2 separate regions of the Homo sapiens genome follow, and region 1 is linked to region 2. Evidence: promoter capture Hi-C in human tissues and cell types (Jung and others, 2019). All regions are on one chromosome and are shown on one strand. Each heading gives the region's core, a stretch centred on a gene start or on the middle of the fragment in contact. The rest is flanking DNA. Distances are from core to core; before and after follow the strand shown.

Region 1 (2,712 bases), core at 83-2,582, 450 kb before region 2:
GATGCTGACAAACATGATATGTGCCTAGTTGCAAAGTGAGCTGATCTCATTGAAGAATGGGGCCTTGTTCACAAGCTCCTTTCAAATCCAGAAGTTGTATTACCCTTTTGCCTTTACACAAAATGGCTGGAACTCATGGAGCCTGCTTCCCAGAGCACCTTTTATATGATCAGCATATCACAAAGTATTTATTGAATGCTTGCAACATACTTAGCAAATGCAAGTATTTGAAGAGGTACAATCAGCATAAACAATTTTTTAAGATATTTGCATTCTTGGTGGTGGGGTGGGGAGACAAACTTACGTTCATGACATGATAATAGAATATGGAACCAGATAATTAATTGTATGGCCTTAGCAGTTAGCTTACTATTTATTCAGAAAAAGAGGTTGAGGAGAGGCCTCATGGAAAAGGAGGGACTTGAACGAATGAGGCCCTAATAGAATTTGTTCCCAGAGAATGGCAAGGGCAGGGCTACAGTGATTAGAGTGACCAGCTGGCCCTGGGGGCAGTGAAGGACAAACCTGAGGAGAGAAGAAGGCTGAGGCTGAGGAATTAGGAAAAGTGAGACTGATGTTATTTTCAACAATTTAATTTGAAATGATCTTTCAAATATTTCCCAAAAGATAAAATCATGATTCTCAGGCAAATATAAGAAAAACATGTGCCAAGGATTTCATTTCATTTTTTTAAAAAAAGATTATATAACAAATACTCATAGGAAGCCTAACCTGGAGCAGGGATTTTATTTAATTTATGAATTAATGGAGGAGCCAGTAAGATGTTAAAGAGCATCTGCAAAGGATGCTGGGTGGACAGAGGTCAGATTAGTAAATTCATAACTAGGCAGTTGAATAAATAAATGTTAGGATAAGATTGCTGGGTTAGATAGAAAATCAGTTAATGTCTTACAGGACAACAAATCCTAATCTTTTGGGTTATATGTTCCACTGGACAGAAGTTATTTGCATCTGTACTGGAAAAAAATCCATAAGGTAACATGTAACTTTATTAAATCTGGGGCATATAATGCATTTAATCAACAGCAAATAGTGAGTAAAATGAAGTACATTCACCTAGATAGTCCTTGGGTAGCCTTTGCCACATATGACGTTGAAAAAGACGTGCCACTCACTTTTTTTTTTGCTAAGTTTTAGATAATTTTAAAAATAATACTGACCTATAGAGAAATGAAGAAAAATCTGGTTTACTGCAGTGTCCTTTTAAGGCTCTGTAGATGGGACCCCCTGTGTGTTCTTGTTCTATATTTAGTTCTTGAATAACTCGGACTGAGAAATCCGGAGGCCTCTTTAGCCCAGTGTCCCATCTTCTTCCTCCCATAGTCTTTTCATCTTTGTTATCACTGACAGCCAGCTCTCAGCTTGGGTTCCTCCTTCATTCTTTAGTTGAGATGTAGACAAGTAGAAATGGGGCCTGAGGCAGGTTCACGGGTGGGAAGGGCTGGTTTAACCCTGCACTGGTCCCAGGCACTGTGCCTTGGTGCCAGTGAGTGTGTCCGATGGGGGTGCAGGGTTCTCAGCGCTGGGCGGTTCTGCCCATGGGCCCATGGCTTTCTGTCCTGCTGACTCTTCTACCTGGAATCGCATGTCAGTGTGTTGCAGGTGCCATGTATATCACCGGCTTTGCTGAATCCATCTCGGATTTGCTGGGCCTCGGGAATATCTGGGCTGTGCGAGGAATTTCAGTTGCGGTGCTTCTGGCCTTGCTGGGCATTAACCTCGCAGGTGTCAAATGGATAATCCGCCTCCAGCTGCTGTTGCTGTTCCTGCTGGCCGTGTCCACACTGGACTTTGTGGTGGGTTCTTTCACCCACCTGGACCCAGGTAAGCCTTTCAGAGTCCAGTATGTGGCCTTATGGATCTTCACTGCTTTAGAGATGTTTGTAGGTGTGAGTTTGCCCACCCCATCTCCCCCTAACCCCCATAGGCTTTACCTACAATTGGTGTGAGCTGTTCCTGGATCAGGTGAGCAGGTGTGTCTTGGAGCAGCTTCATGAGGCTAGAAGCTCCTCTTCACACAGACATCGCCTAGCACATTTTCTATGTGTCCTTTTATTTTCTTTTTTTAATGTATATTTATTTATTTATTATTATTATACTTTAAGTTTTAGGATAACATGTGCACAACATGCAGGTTTGTTACATATGTGTACATGTGCCATGTTGGTGTGCTGCTCCCATTAACTCGTCATTTACATTAGGTATATCTCCTAATGCAATCCTCCCCCCTCCCCCCACCCCACAACAGTCCCTGGTGTGTGATGTTCCCCTTCCTGTGTCCATTTGTTCTCATTGTTCAATTCCCACCTATGAGTGAGAACATGCGGTGTTTGGTTTTTTGTCCTTGCGATAGTTTGCTGAGAATGATGGTTTCCAGCTTCATCCATGTCCCTACAAAGGACATGAACTCATCCTTTTTTATGGCTGCATAGTATTTCATGGTGTATATGTGCCACATTTTCTTAATCCAGTCTATCATTGTTGGACATTTGGGTTGGTTCCAAGTCTTTGCTATTGTGAACAGTGCCGCAATAAACATACGTGTGCATGTGTCTTTATAGCAGCATGATTTATAATCCTTTGGGTATATACCCAGTAATGGGATGGCTGGGTCAAATGGTATTTCTAGTTCTAGATCCGTGAGGAATCGCCACACCGACTTCCACAATGGTTGAACTAGTTTACAGTCCC
Region 2 (2,700 bases), core at 184-2,683:
TTTTCTGAGACAGTCTCCCTCTGTTGCCCAGGCTGGAGTGCAGTGGCTCAATTTCGGCTAACTGCAACCTCCTGATTCTTCTGCCTCAGCCTCCTGAGTAGCTGGGATTACAGGTGTGCACCACCATGCCCAGCTAATTTTTGCATTTTCAGTAGAGACAGGGTTTCACCATGTTGGCCAGGCTGGTCTCGAACTCCAGACCTTAAGTGATCCACCCGCCTCAGCCTCCCAAAGAAAGCCTCCCAAAGTTGGGACTACAGGCATGAGCCCCTGTGCTCACCCGAGGCAAGAAGATCTCTTAAGCCCAGGAGTTCCAGGCTGCAGTGAGCTATGATCACAGAGCTGCACTCCAGCCTGGGTGACGTAAGAGAGATCCCATCTAAAAAATAAATAAATAAAATAATAACACAAGCGATTGATTAGCTATACATTGTTCTTTGTATCACACATTCCAGGTACATTAAGATAATGGGAGAGGCAGCTAGTCAGGGACAAAATTCCTTTAAATAATTGTCCCGGGGCTGCATAGGGGAGTATGGTTGAAGTCTCTCTGGGCTCTGATAAATTTTGTATACATCACAGAGTTCTGGTTGTTCTATTTTCCTTTTCTCACCAGTAATTTCCCAGCTACTGAATTCTCTGCCTACCCACGTTTTCCCGGTCTATTTGTTTGTTTTTTGAGGGCAGGGTCTCACTTGTCGCCCAGGCTGGAGTGCAGTGGCGCAATGACAGCTCATTGCAGCCTTGACCTCCCAGGCTCAGGTGATCCTCCCACCTCAGCGTCCCAGGCGTGCGCCACCACACCCAGCTAATTTTTTGTAGAGACGGGGTCTCGTCATGTTGCCCAGGCTGGTCTCGAACTCCTGGGGCTCAGGTGATCTGCCCACTTAGGCATCCCAAAGTGCTGGTATTACTCTCATGAGGCACCACGCCCGGCCGCAAGTCTAATTTTCTTAAAGAGTTAAATATACAGAATTCATTCAAGTGTGCTTCAGTGCCAGAAAGCGTTCCAAACTGGGTTTCCCGACTTTTGCAAAACACGTGTCTAAGCGTGTGGGTGAAAGAACAGACGACTCTCGAGGAGCCCAACCCCTGGCCTCTGTGCTTCTCATGCTTACTCCCCAAACCAAGAGTAGGGTCGGTCTGCCTGCTTGGCTCTTTTGCTCTCACTCACGGCCCAACTCCTGTCACCCTCTTCCATTTCCTTGTCCTCCTTCCCGCCACCAAGCCCTGTCCTTTCCCTTCCTAGGCCAGCACCTGACTCAGAAGACGCGGTCGAGACACGATGCCCCGCAGATCGATGTAGATGGGGGAGGAAAGCCCGCTCTTCAGCACGAAGTCCCCAAACTTGAAAGCCTGCACGTCGTACAGACCCGTCACCAATGGCCCCAAAGCTGCACGAGCGACCGCCATTGTCGCGCGCTGCCTGTTTGCTTCAAATTCCCAGGCGCCCCGGGCCTCCGGCGCCCCGATGACGTCACCCGCGAAGTCCCGCCTCTTCCGCCTGCCTCGTCTGCAGCTTTCCCGGCTTGCTGCACCCGTGGGTTTCCCCGGGCTCAAGGGTCAGGTGGATGGTAGCGAACCTAGCGCCAGTTTGTGCTTCTCCTGGTTTCTTCTGGATGGGGTCGCTGGGGTTCAAAGCCCAGAACAGCTAGATTGACTGTAGGATCATGAAGTCCCACCTTTCATGAGAGTTTGCATAAATCCTGTCCATTTTTTAATAGCCAATGCCTTCTCGACTAGTTCTCTTAATTATCTCTACTCCTTGGCCTAACATGTTATATTTGCTAGTTATTAGCCAAGATTTACCCCCCATGTTTCTCCAAATAGAATATAAGTTATCAAAGACAGGGACCTTTACTCAATTCTTTTATTAACTTCATAGCATCTAGTACGTGACAGTTCCATAGCAGTTTGCACATAGGAATATATAGCACTTAGATCATTACAGTATTCATTACCTCTTTTGTCTGTACTCTGCTTCCTGGAGGAGTACTTTTTTATTTCCTTTGGCGTACCTCAAATGCTTAGGTAATAGGTGTAGAAAAGGTAAGGGAGGGAAGGAGGAGAGTTAGAAGACGGTTAATTGATTGGTATCAGGGTTATCCAGGAGGATAATATTGCTAGACAATCTGAAAATCCAAACATATTTGGTCTTTACAAATAAATCCCTTAAAGAAATAATCAATAAATAATCTGTACAAATAAATCCCTTCTCCATTGTGTATATAAGGCAATACTTTATTCTAGCTTAAGGAAAATAACCCTTAAATTCACATAAAGAATGAAACCTTGTCATTTGCAGCAAGGTGGATGAACCTGAAGGACATTATGTTAGTGAAACAAGCCAGGAACAGGAAGATAAATACCAAATGTTCTCGCTCATATGCAGAAGCTAAAAAAGTTGATCTCATGGAGCTAGAGAATAAAATAGTAATCACTAGAGGCTGGGAAGGGTAGGGGGTGGTTAAAGGACACAAATTACAGCTAGATAGGAGGAATAAGTCCTAGTGTTCCATTGCACTGTAGGGTGACTGTAGTCAATAATAATTTACTATATATTTTAAAATAGCTAGAAGAGGGGCGTTTGAATGTTCCCAACACAAAGAAAGGATAAATATTTAAGGTGAGGAATATATGAATTACTCTGATTTGATCACTGTACATTGTGTGTATTGAAATAGCACTATGTACCCAATA

The links. The method cuts DNA at HindIII sites, captures the fragments that hold promoters and counts their contacts. A contact is called where the count stands out against the background at its distance.
Region 1: a contact is called between a fragment that was not itself captured here and the fragment with the promoter of UMPS in region 2, in 1 of the 25 tissues and cell types used here (dorsolateral prefrontal cortex).

The regions. Positions count from the first base shown.
Region 1 is chr3:125,176,876-125,179,587 of GRCh38, reverse strand. SLC12A8 (solute carrier family 12 member 8) reads left to right here. Exons shown (of 14, transcript NM_024628.6): 5 at 1,614-1,845. Among named protein-coding and RNA genes, the nearest start is that of MIR5092, 27 kb to the right of the region's middle. The HindIII fragment of the contact is 7,457 bases long and covers 1-2,712 here.
Region 2 is chr3:124,729,185-124,731,884 of GRCh38, reverse strand. UMPS (uridine monophosphate synthetase) reads right to left here and starts at 1,433. Exons shown (of 6, transcript NM_000373.4): 1 at 1,258-1,433. The coding sequence starts at 1,413. RefSeq lists enhancers at 1,354-1,763, 1,176-1,775. The HindIII fragment of the contact is 9,650 bases long and covers 1-2,700 here.